3 separate regions of the Homo sapiens genome follow, and all the other regions are linked to region 2. The links are contacts of gene promoters, found by promoter capture Hi-C in human tissues and cell types (Jung and others, 2019). All regions are on one chromosome and are shown on one strand. Each heading gives the region's core, a stretch centred on a gene start or on the middle of the fragment in contact. The rest is flanking DNA. Distances are from core to core; before and after follow the strand shown. Region 1 has its middle 25 kb from the start of ACP7. Region 2 holds the start of IFNL3 (interferon lambda 3). Region 3 holds the start of TIMM50 (translocase of inner mitochondrial membrane 50).

Region 1 (4,280 bases), core at 291-2,790, 180 kb after region 2:
GGGGTAGGGAAAGAGGCCTTGTTGGAGAGAATACTGGCTTAGGGGGCTCAGGAGTGGGAGACAGGCCTGAAAAAACACTAGTAAAGATAGCCCATGTTCAGAAGTCTCAGAAACCCCCCAGTGCTTTCAGGAGAACATTTCACACACACACACACACACACACACACACACACACACACACACTCCACATATGAATGCTTTGGGCTGCAAGTAACAGGAAACCCACAGAAGATGTGTAGTCTGTCCAGATGCTCACTGATGTCATTGGCATCCTGGGTTCCCGTTTCTCTGCTCTGCAATCTCTATCTAGTTTTATCTTCATCCTGAAGATAAGGTTGTAAGTGAAAGGCTGCCAACACCACTGCAACACGCTTTCTTGTTTGAGTTCAGCAGAGGCAAGGGAGAGAGAAAGACAGAATGAGAGAGAGAGAGAAGCTGTCTTTCTGCGGGACTCCCTCAAGAGAGCGGAGGGAGCTGTGGGGTGTTTGAGGGGAATTAACAGTAATGATACTGATCAACAGTCACATGCTACTTTCTGTGCTACAAGCACTGCTCTTAGCCTTCCCATGTGCCCTATTACACCAACTCTAAGGTGCTCTGTGCATAAGAGCCATCTTAGAAAGAAAAAAATAAAGCAGCCAGGTGCAGTGGCTCACACCTGCAATCCCAACACTTTGGGAGGCCGAGGCAGGTGGATCACCTGAGGCCAGGAGTTTGAGACCACCCTGACCAACATGGTGAAACCCTGTCTCTACTAAAAAGACAAAAATTAGCTGGGCATGGTGGCAGACACCTGTAATCTCAGCTACTCAGGAGACTGAGGCGGGAGGATTACTTGAACCCGGAAGGCGGAGGTTGCAGTGAGCCGAGATCGTGCCACTGCACTCTAGCCTGGGCGACAGAGGAAGACTCTATCTAAAAAAAAAATAAAAATAAAAATAAAAAAGGCCAGGCGCAGTGGCTCACGCCTGTAATCCCAACACTTTGAGAGGCGGAGGCAGGTGGATCACCTGAGGTCAGGAGTTCGAGACCAGCCTGACCAACATGGAGAAACCCCATCTTTACTAAAAATACAAAATTAGCCGGGCGTGGTGGCACATGCCTGTAATCCCAGCTACTCAGGAGGCTGAGGCAGGAAAATTGCTTGAACCCAGGAGGCAGAGGCTGCAGTGAGCCAAGATTGCGCCACTGTACTGCAGCCTGGGCAACAAGAGTGAGACTCCATCTCAAAAAAAAAAAAAAAAAAGGAAGCAAAAAAGACCACTGTTGATTAAACCACAACAGATCATCTATTTTAACACCCATCCCAATTCCGTGGATCCATGAAATACCCCATACTAGCTCATTTGGTCCTCTCCACAACCCTATGAGATAGGTAGCATTATCATCCCCATTTTATACAGGGGGAAACTGAGGTCAGAAAGACTGAGTGGCATGCTCAAAGTCCCCCCAGTGAGCCAGAGGTGGAGCCAGGATTTGAACTCGGGCAGTCTGGCAGCAGAGCCCTGACTCTTATCTGCTCTCCACACTGCCTCTCTGCTTCCAGTCTGATTTTGGAGAAGTAGACCCAGGAATCACACAGACAGCTAGAAATATCCGCCTATTGGCATATGAAAAGGGGCTCAACATCGCTGATCATTAGAGAGATGCAAATCAAAACTACAGTGAGATATATCATCTCACCCCAATTAAAGTGCCTTATATCCAAAAGACAGGCAATAACAAATGCTGGCAATGATGTGAAGAAAAGGGAACCCTCGTACATTGTTGGTGGGAATGTAAATTAGTACAACCACCGTGGAGAACAGTTTGGAGGTTCCTCAAAAAACTAAAAATTGAGGCTGGGCGCAGTGGCGCACACCTGTAATCCCAACACTTTGGGAGGCCAAAGCAGGTGGATCCCTTGAGGTCAGGAGTTCAAGACCAGCCTGGCCAATGTGGTGAAACCCCGTCTCTACTAAAAATACAAAAATTAGCCAGGCGTCATGGTGCATGCCTGTCATCCCAGCTACTCAGGAGGCTGAGGCAGAAGAATCAGTTGAACCTGGGAGGCAGAGGTTGCAGTGAGCAAGATCACACCACTGCACTTGAGCCTGAGGGACAGAGCTAGACTCTGTCTCAAAAAAAAAAAAAAAAACAAAACACCTAAAAATTTGAGCTACCATATGATCCAGCAATCCCACTGCTGGGTATATACCCCATAGAATGGAAATCAGTGTATCTGTTAAGGAAATATCTACACTGACATGTGTATTGCAGCACTGCTCACAGTAGCCAAAATTTGGAAGCAACCTAAGTGTCCATCAGCAGATGAATGGATAAGGAAAATGTACATATGCACAGTGGAGTACTATTTAGCCATAAAAAAGAATGAGATCTAGTCATTTGTAACAACATGAATGGAACTGGAGACCATTATGTTAAGTGAAATAAACCAGGTTCAGAAAGACAAACATCACATGTTCTCACTTATTTGTGGGAGTTAAAAATCAAAACAATTGAACTCATGGACATAGAGAGGCTGGGAAGGATAGTGGAGGTTGGGGGGAGGAGAGGATGGTTAGTGGGTATAAAAAAATAGAAATAATGAATAAGACCTACTATTTGATCACACAACAGGGCGCCTATAGTCAATAATAACTCGCCTATTTAAAGATAACTGAAAGAGTATAATTGGATTGTTTGTAACACAAAGGATAAATGCTTGAGGGGATGGATGCCCCATTCTCCAGGATGTGATTATTATACATTCCATGCTTGTATCAAAACATTTCATTTACCCCATAAATAAGTACACCTACAAAAATTAAAAATTAAAAAAATATATATCAGCCTGTTGGTAAAGGCTTAGCTGGGTGGCCGCAGCGGGCTTCCCAACACCCCCAAATTGAACTTACCATCTAAAATGGAGGCTCCTTGGCCAGGTGCAGTGGCTCATGCCTGTAATCCCAACACTTTGGGAGGCCACGATGGGCCGATCACCTGAGGCCAGGAGTTCAAGACCAGCCTGGCCAACATGGTGAAACCACGTCTCTACTAAAAATACAAAAACATGTGCTGTGTCCACTCAGGGTTAAATGGATTAAGGGCGGTGCAAGATGTGCTTTGTTAAACAGATGCTTGAAGGCAGCATGCTCGTTAAGAGTCATCACCAATCCCTAATCTCAAGTAATCAGGGACACAAACACTGCGGAAGGCCGCAGGGTCCTCTGCCTAGGAAAACCAGAGACCTTTGTTCACTTGTTTATCTGCTGACCTTCCCTCCACTATTGTCCCATGACCCTGCCAAATCCCCCTCTGTGAGAAACACCCAAGAATTATCAATAAAAAAATAAATTAAAAAAAAATAATAATAAAAAACAAAAAAAAATAAAAATAAAAATACAAAAAAAAAAAAAATTAGCAAGTCATGTTGGCGCACGCCTGTAATCCCAGCTACTTGGGAGGGAGGCTGAAGAAGGAGAATCGCTTAAGCCCAGAAGGCAGAGGTTGCAGTGAGCCAAGATCTCGCCACTGCACTCCAGCCTGGGTGACAGAGCAAGACTCCATCTCTAAATAAATACATAAATAATGGCGGCTCCTCTCTAGCTGGTTTATAGGCACAAGAATAAGTTCCACTAAACCATGGGTCCTCCCCCACCGTCACCCCCAGGGAAGGCATGAGGGACAGAGACAAACTGCAGCTGTTCTTCCTCCACTTGTCCTTCCTGGAGAGTGCAATAAAAACACCTCCTTTATTTGGTAACATAAGGAATGAGAAAACCCCTTTCAAAGACACGCCAAAGAAGAGATCAACTGCCTTAGTAAACAGATCTACACGTAATGTAGACCGCCAGTTAGGGATGAAGTTAGAATCTCACCACATGATGGATTCCTGTGTCTTCACCTTCGACCAGTACTGGGATCCTTTCAAGAGTGTCATCAGCACCTTCACAGATAGCTCTGCAAAATGGCGGCTAACCTATGGCTCCATTGTCAAGTCAACAGCCCACACTATTTCCCAATGTAAGATTTCACCGTGGTCAGCTGGCCTCATGACTTACATTCCTAAAGGAAATGCATTATCTGACCATTTACTTCCTTCTTTTGTGGCTTTCAGTCCACACCTCTGAAGTCTTGGGGTGTAGCCATCATCTAACTTGTAGGTGTCCTCCCTCATTCCTTCTTCCATGTCATTCTGGAAACCACAGACTCTTACTACAAACCTTAGATCTGTGATCCTCTTTTTTCTACACTTTTTCAGAACATCCTCCTCCCCTTGCACCCCATTGGCCAGAACT
Region 2 (3,934 bases), core at 723-3,222:
TCAGATATAAGAGGAGCGGGTCCTTCTACAGGGAAGAGACCACAGTTCTCCAGGAAGCCACGATATTTCCTCGGGGTGCATTGTACGACCCTCCAACGGTTGCTGTGGCAGGAAAAAACTTGAGCTCTGGAAACCGTGGCTGACCCCAGGCAACAGGGACCAGTTCCTCCTTGTGTGGTTACCAGGACACCCCCAACACCAGGTCCTAACCCCGGATTTGTAGCCCCACAGCCAGCTTTGAGATTCTGTGAATCCGTGACTCTTGGATCCGGCATCTAAGGGACACCAATCCATGAGGGATTTGGTAGTGAAAGGCCCAAGGGTCCTTAACCGACTGTGGTTCTTTGGATTCCCTTACGTGTGTTTGTATTTGTGAAGTTCCTGTGCATTTGCTATTCTGTCTCCCGGTTTAAATTTATTGCCAGTTATCAAAGAGTGTTTTGATCGCATTGGTTGTTTTCCGTATGATGATTGTGAGGTGCACCTTACAGCAAAAAAAGAGGCCGAGCCAGGGACTCAGGTGGCCTGAGTTTCAGTTCTGACCCTGCCAGTTAATTACAGTGGAATTCAGGGCAAATTACTTTTCTGAGCCTCTGTTTCCTCACCTATAGGATGGGTTAGCATACTTGCCTTGTGGAGGAGTAGTGTCCGTTGAGATCACGTTTTAAACTCTCCAGCTGAGGTCCTAGTATGGTCTTAATGAGTGGATTCTATTAAATAATCACTCACATAAATACACAAACAATTGTGTTATTAATTTTTTCTCCAAATCTGTGCATTAGCAATCTGCGTTGCTGAATGCACCCCTCCTTGCCAAGGTCACACGGCTAGTGAGGGTCAGAACCAGGTTTGAACCCCAGACCCTTCATCTCCAAGACCCATGCTCTTCACCACTGCCTGAACTTCCCTAAGAAAGACGGCACCCACGTGGTGTCCTTCAAGTCCTTCGTCACACCTCAATTCTTGAGCAGAGCCTCATATTCCTGAGTCCTTCCTTGCCTGGGCAATTAAGAAATATTGGCCTCTGGGCATGGTGGCTCACACTGAAATCCCAGCAATTTGGGAGGCCTAGACAGAGAGATGACTTGACATCAGGAATTTGAGACCAGCCTTGCCAACATGGTGAAACGCCATCTCTACTAAAAATATAAAAATTAGCTGGGAATGGTGGCACAAATCTGTAATCTCAGCTACTTGGGAGGCTAAGGCAAGAGAATTGCTTGAACCCAGGAGGCGGAGGTTGCAGTTAGCCAAGATTTTGCACTGCACTCCAGCCTGGGTGACCGAACAAGACCCTGTCTCAAAATATATATATATATATATATATATATATGCCAGGAGTGGTGGCTCAGGCCTGTAATCTCAGCACTTTAATAGGCTGGGTGAGGAGGATGGCTTGAGCCCAGGAGTTTGAGGCTGCAGTGAGCTGTGATCATGCCATTGCACTGCAGTGACAGAGTGAGACCCTGTCTTAAACAACAACAAAACCAGAGCAGGTGGAATCCTCTTGGGAACATACCTTCCTGTAGGTTACCCCTGAGTCTCCATCAGTTTCTCTTTCCCTCCAGCTGCTCATCTGGCTCACTAGCCCTGCCCTGCTCTGGGCTTTCCCAGCCTGGGGCTCCCCTGGTGGCCGGTGTCTTACCTGAGGCTGTGTTTTCACTTTTCCTACATCAGCTGGGACTGCCCTTCTGTCAGGGATAAAAGCTGCCCCATGGAGCTCAGGCAGGAATTACATCCCAGACAGAGCTCAAAACTGACAGAAAGAGTCAAAGCCAGGACACAGTCTGAGATCCAGAAGAGGGGACTGAAAAGAACAGAGACTCCAGACAAGACCCAAACAGACCCTGGGTGACAGCCTCAGAGTGTTTCTTCTGCTGACAAAGACCAGAGATCAGGAATGAAACTAGGTGAGTCCCACATCTCTGTCCGTGCTCAGCTCCTGCAGCCCCTGCCCTCAGTGGGCAGCCTCTGCATTCCCTCAGCTCCCTTTCTCTCTGTGACACAGACATGACCGGGGACTGCATGCCAGTGCTGGTGCTGATGGCCGCAGTGCTGACCGTGACTGGAGCAGTTCCTGTCGCCAGGCTCCGCGGGGCTCTCCCGGATGCAAGGGGCTGCCACATAGCCCAGTTCAAGTCCCTGTCTCCACAGGAGCTGCAGGCCTTTAAGAGGGCCAAAGATGCCTTAGTGAGTCTCCCCCTGCCCTCCTGCCATGGACTAGCCTCCACCCGCACTCCAAGGGTCACCATGCTTTCCCACTCCCAGCTTCCTTCACTGGGCTAGCCTCCACCCTCCCTGCAGTGGGCTATCTCATGCTCCTACTGCAGGGACTGACTCATGTTTTCCTGAAGAAGAGGGTCCTCTACCATCCTCCCAGCAGTTAACCTCCCCTATCCTGTTGTCAGCCATCCTCCAATCCCATCAGAGTGGTCTAACCTCCACCCCTCCTGCTGGGGCTAACCTGTGCCTTTGCTGTCTAGGAAGAGTCGCTTCTGCTGAAGGACTGCAAGTGCCGCTCCCGCCTCTTCCCCAGGACCTGGGACCTGAGGCAGCTGCAGGTGAGAGGGGGAGTCAGGCCCACCCCTGCCCTCCCAGCCCTGCTCACCTGGCTCTGTAGTGGCCCCTTCACCTTCTCCTTCTCCATTGTCCCTCTCTCCTCTCCCCACACCTGCTACCCCTTCCCTCTGCTCCTACCTGACCACACTGGCTGTGCCCTCTCCCCTGTGCCTGTCACCTTCACTTGTTCCTCTCTATCCTCCTCCCCCAACCTGTTCCCCTCACCTCCCCCCTCACCTGCTCTTTCTCACCTCTCCTCAGGTGAGGGAGCGCCCCGTGGCTTTGGAGGCTGAGCTGGCCCTGACGCTGAAGGTTCTGGAGGCCACCGCTGACACTGACCCAGCCCTGGGGGATGTCTTGGACCAGCCCCTTCACACCCTGCACCATATCCTCTCCCAGCTCCGGGCCTGTGTGAGTCGTCAGGGCCCGGGCACCCAGGTCTGTGAGCTCTGAGCAGCGTCCTTCCCCTGGCCAAGGCCCCGGCTCACACACCGCCCTCCTCTGCCCACAGATCCAGCCTCAGCCCACGGCAGGGCCCAGGACCCGGGGCCGCCTCCACCATTGGCTGCACCGGCTCCAGGAGGCCCCAAAAAAGGTGAGTGACCCGGGAAGAGAGGGACTGAGGTCTGGGGAGCCACTGGGAGCCCAGAACCCAGACAGCCCCTGACCCATCCCCTCCTCCCTACAGGAGTCCCCTGGCTGCCTCGAGGCCTCTGTCACCTTCAACCTCTTCCGCCTCCTCACGCGAGACCTGAATTGTGTTGCCAGCGGGGACCTGTGTGTCTGACCCTTCCGCCAGTCATGCAACCTGAGATTTTATTTATAAATTAGCCACTTGGCTTAATTTATTGTCACCCAGTCGCTATTTATGTATTTGTGTATGTAAATCCAACTCACCTCCAGGAAAATGTTTATTTTTCTACTTTTTGAAATCCTTGTTGAAATAAACAATGAGGAAAAGACACCCATGACGTGGGACTGTGTGTGCGTTGGTGTGTATTTCCTTTGCATTGCTGCCATAACAAATTACCCTAAAAGTAGCATCTAGAACAGCAGGTTCATTGAGTCTGTGCTGTCCACTGGGGTCCCCAGGTCACATGTCACTATCGAGCACCTGGAATGTAGGTGGTGCAACCTCATTTTTTCAGTGAGTGTAAAACATACCCCAGAATTTGAAGATTTACTGTGGAGAAAAAAAAAAAAGTAAAACAGCTTAATTATAATTTATATATTCATTAGATGTTGAAATGATAGCACTTTGGATGTATTGGGTGAAATGAAGCATCTTTAAAATTAATTTAGAGCCTGGATGTGATTGCTCAAGCCTGTAATCACAGCACTTTGGGTGGCTGAGTTGGGAGGATCACTTGAGCCC
Region 3 (4,062 bases), core at 986-3,485, 240 kb before region 2:
GAAAAGGAATCTCCAGGACCCCAAGAGGAACAGGCAAAGGTCACTGGGAAAGAAAGGCTCACTCCAGACCAGCAATGTGCCTGAACAGACCAAAGGGGACCCCTCTCACCCACAGACTAGGACTCCTGGCAAGGCCTCGGTCTCTTTCCCCCTCACCTTGGCACCATTTTCGTCCACCGGGTTGTTTCCTGCAAGGGAGACCAGGATGAATATGAGGAATTAGGGCCCAGTCCCCTGGGTCCCGAGGGAGGAGTGGGATAAGGGGCCTGGACTCCTGGATCTGAGGAAAGAGAGAGGCACAGCCTCCTGGAGTCAAGCCAGGAGGGGGCTGGGAGCCAAGATTCCTGGGTCTTTGAGAGAAATGGGGCTGGGGCTAGGTCTTTTGGGTCTGTGGGATTTTTTTTTTTTTTTTTGAGACAGAGTCTCGCTCTGTTGCCCAGGCTGGAGTGCAGTGGCACGATCTCGGCTCACTGCAAGCTCCGCCTCCCGGGTTCACGCCATTCTCCTGCCTCAGCCTCCCGAGTAGCTGAGACTACAGGCGCCCGCCACCACACCGGGCTAATTTTTTTTTGTATTTTTAGTAGAGATGGGGTTTCACCGTGTTAGCCAGGATGGTCTCCGTCTCCTGACCTCGTGATCCGCCCGCCTCGGCCTCCCAAAGTGCTGGGATTACAGGCGTGAGCCACCGTGCCCGGCCGGGTCTGTGGGATTTAAAGTAACTAGTGGGAAGGCTGGATTTTTGGCTGCTGAGGAAAGACAAAGTTTAGGAAGCTGATCCAGGCCTATCCTTCCCCATCTTCCCCTCTTTCCTTTATCCTGGTACAGGAACCAACTAGAAAGACTAGAACCTTAAGGAGTGGAAGGGAGAAGAAAGAAGACTTCCCTGGTTTTCAAGGTAGGTGTCTTATTTGGCTGCCCTATTGAGGAAGGAGCCAGGGAATGAAGACGAGAGAAGCTGGTAGTGGGCAAGAGTGGGAGGTTCCACAGTGGACCAGGGAGGCCAAGGAACAAAACTGGGGGACAGGGATATGTCCCTCACCAAAGATATAGACGACGCTCACAGTCCCACCAGCTCCAAGCAGCCCAGCAAGCCAGAGCGCAACTTTTTTGGCATAGCTGGGACCCTCTGAGCCCGGCTGCTGCTGTGGCCCTTGCGCCTTAGTGCTCCCGCGGCTCCCGATCTCTGCGGCCTGCGGTTGAGAAAGGGGAGGTCAGCCAAGAGAGAAGAGAGGTCAGGATGGTCCCCACCCTCCAGTCCAAGAAGAATCAAGTTCAGGAGCCAAGAGGCAGACACCCACAGAGCCCTGGACATCTGTGTCCCTGGAGTAGCAGTCAGGATGTGGGGCTGCTCAGAGGGTCAAAACCAGACTGTCCCGCACCAGGATGCCAGGAGTTTTAAAAGCTAACAGGCCAGGTGCACAGGATCCTGAAGGCAACAGGACTGGAGGGTCTGCAGCCCAGAAAAGCAAAGCACGGAGAATAAGGGATGGGAGGGCCTAAACACTGGGATGAGAGGGAACGGAGGGCACAAGTGGTGGGGGAAGGGGTACAGACAGAACCGGGAGTTACGACGTCCGGCTGCTTGGGGCTAAAAGTAGCAGAGTTATAGGGTAAGGGATAGGAGCGGAGGCGGGGAAGGGCAATCACTTGTCTGGGGCTTGGGGAACTAAGGCACAGAAGTGATAGACTTGGAGGTCAGAATGGCTGGGTCTCTGTCAACATGGAGGCAAGTCGAATTGGAAACCCAAACGTCTACCTCGCCACCACCAACGCCACAGAGAAAATAACTCCCACGGCCAGACTGGGACTCCAGCGTCCCAGGCCCCTCCTGCTCAAGTATCACCTGAGTGGTCACTGAAACGGGGAACGGTAACCCCCTCCTCCTCCGGCACCCACGTGGGTGGGAGGTGGGGTCTAAGGACACACCTGGATTCCCAGCCTCCAGCCTAGGGGAGCAACCACCCAGGAGGTTGGGAAGGGCCCCAAAACACAAGCGGCGTTTCATTCAGCACCCTGAGGTGAGGCGTCCCGGAACCCCCAAGGGGCGGCGATATGTCCGTAACTCCAGGGAAGGGACCCCACATTCAGAGGGCCACCCTCGTTCCGCTCACCTGATCTGGGGCCCGGCGGGGCGGCGTCGCCAACCTCGTGCACAGTCCCCGCGAGCCGAGCCGGAGCCCGCTTCGCAAGCGCGAGAACACCGCTGCCGAGGCCGCCATCTTGCGCTGACGCCACGCGGCCCCGCCCACTCGCTCCCTCTTCGCCCGCCCCGGGCCGGAGCTACAGCCAATGGAAACGCGGGGGAGGGGCGGGTGGACGGAAGCCCGAGAGAGACCAAAGGCATCGGGCGGATTGCCGCAGGCGCGTTTGCTTCTGACTAGTCTCCTGGCTGACCCTGGGGGCGACAACTGGGATTCAAAGTCATCTGGACCACGCCCCCTTGGGCCTTGCAGAGCGCCACCGCCCCTGCAAAGGACGCAGCGAAGGAAGGGATCACACTTATTGCCCAGAGATAAAGCTGAGGCCATAATGAAGGGAGTCAGTGGCTGCCTGATTTGTCCAAAAAAATAGTCACGAGTCAGGCCGCTTGTCTCACCGTGTAAGGCAATCGGCCCTCACCTCCCAATTGTCTGAAGGGATGGGTTGCCCCTCCACACCTGTGGGTGTTTCTCGTTAGGTGGAACGAGAGACTTTGGAAGAGAAAAAGACACAGAAACAAAGTATAGAGAAAGAAATAAAGGGGGCCCAGGGGACCAGCGTTCAGCATACGGAGGATCCCTCCAGCCTCTGAGTTCCCTTAGTATTTACTGATCATTCTTGGGTGTTTCTTGGAGAGGGGGATGCGTCAGGGTCATAGGATAATAGTGGAGAGAGGGTCAGCAGATAAACACGTGAACAACGGTTCATAGACAAGGTAAAGAATTAAATGCTGTACTTTAGATATGCATACATATAAACATCTCAGTGCCTTACAGAGCAGTATTGTTGCCCGCATGTTCCACCTCCAGCCCTAAGGCAGTTTTCCCCTATCTCAGTAGATGGAACATACAATCGGGTTTTATACCAAGACTTGCCCAGGGACGGGCAGGAGACAGATGCCTTCCTCTTGTCTCAACTGCGAAGAGGCGTTCCTTCCTGTTTTACTAATCCTCCTCAGCACAGACCCTTTACGGGTGTCGGGCTGGGGGACGGTCAGATCTTTCCCTTCCCATGAGGCCATATTTCAGACTATCACATGGGGAGAAACCTTGGACAATACCTGGCTTTCCTAGGCAGAGGTCCCTGCGGTCTTCCGCAGTGTTTGTGTCACTGGGTACTTGAGATTAGGGAGTGGTGATGACTCTTAAGGAGCATGCTGCCTTCAAGCATCTGTTTAACAAAGCACGTCCTGCACAGCCCTTAATCCATTTAACCCTGAGTTGACACAGCACATGTTTCAGAGAGCACGGGGTTGGTTATAGAGAACCCCGTCATCTATAACAGGGTATGGTTATAGATTAACAGCATCTCAAGGCAGAAGAATTTTTCTTAGTACAGAACAAAATGGAGTCTCCTATGTCTACTTCTTTCTACACAGACACAGTAACAATCTGATCTTTCTTTTCCCCACATTGTCAGAAATAGACATTGAGGCCCAGAAAACGACCTGAAAAGCCAGCCCTCGAAAACTCTTCTGGCCAGGCGCTGTGACTGACACCTATAATCCCAGTGCTTCGGGAGGCCGAGGCAGGAGGATCGCTTGAGGCCAGGAGTTTGAGACCACACTGGGTAACATAGCAAGACTGCAATCTCTATTTTTAAAATTAATAATAATAGGCCGGGCGCAGTGGCTCATGCCTGTAATCCCAGCACTTTGGGAGGCTGAGGCAGGCGGATCACCTGAGGTCAGGAGTTTTGAGACCAGCCTGGCCAACATGGGGAAACCACGTCTCTACTAAAAATAACAAAAAAAAAAAAAAATTAGCCAGGCATGATGGCACGCGCCTGTAGTCCCACCTACTGGGGAGGCTGAGCAGAAGAATCGCTTGAACCCAGGAGGCAGAGGTTGCAGTGAGCCTAGAT

The links. The method cuts DNA at HindIII sites, captures the fragments that hold promoters and counts their contacts. A contact is called where the count stands out against the background at its distance.
Region 1: a contact is called between a fragment that was not itself captured here and the fragment with the promoter of IFNL3 in region 2, in 2 of the 25 tissues and cell types used here (liver and mesendoderm cells).
Region 3: a contact is called between the fragment with the promoter of TIMM50 here and the fragment with the promoter of IFNL3 in region 2, in 1 of the 25 tissues and cell types used here (spleen).

Annotation. Positions count from the first base shown.
Region 1 is chr19:39,057,600-39,061,879 of GRCh38, reverse strand. No RefSeq gene overlaps it. Among named protein-coding and RNA genes, the nearest start is that of ACP7, 25 kb to the left of the region's middle. RefSeq lists an enhancer at 2,874-3,375. The HindIII fragment of the contact is 6,146 bases long and covers 1-4,280 here.
Region 2 is chr19:39,243,044-39,246,977 of GRCh38, reverse strand. IFNL3 (interferon lambda 3) reads left to right here and starts at 1,972. Exons shown (of 5, transcript NM_172139.4): 1 at 1,972-2,190; 2 at 2,484-2,561; 3 at 2,821-2,970; 4 at 3,071-3,154; 5 at 3,248-3,425. The coding sequence starts at 2,011. The coding sequence ends at 3,346. It also overlaps the pseudogene IFNL4. The HindIII fragment of the contact is 34,684 bases long and covers 1-3,934 here.
Region 3 is chr19:39,479,011-39,483,072 of GRCh38, reverse strand. It overlaps TIMM50 (translocase of inner mitochondrial membrane 50), which reads right to left and starts at 2,235. Exons shown (of 11, transcript NM_001001563.5): 1 at 2,112-2,235; 2 at 1,040-1,190; 3 at 157-188. The coding sequence starts at 2,219. RefSeq lists enhancers at 1,783-1,832, 1,953-2,547. The HindIII fragment of the contact is 21,512 bases long and covers 1-4,062 here.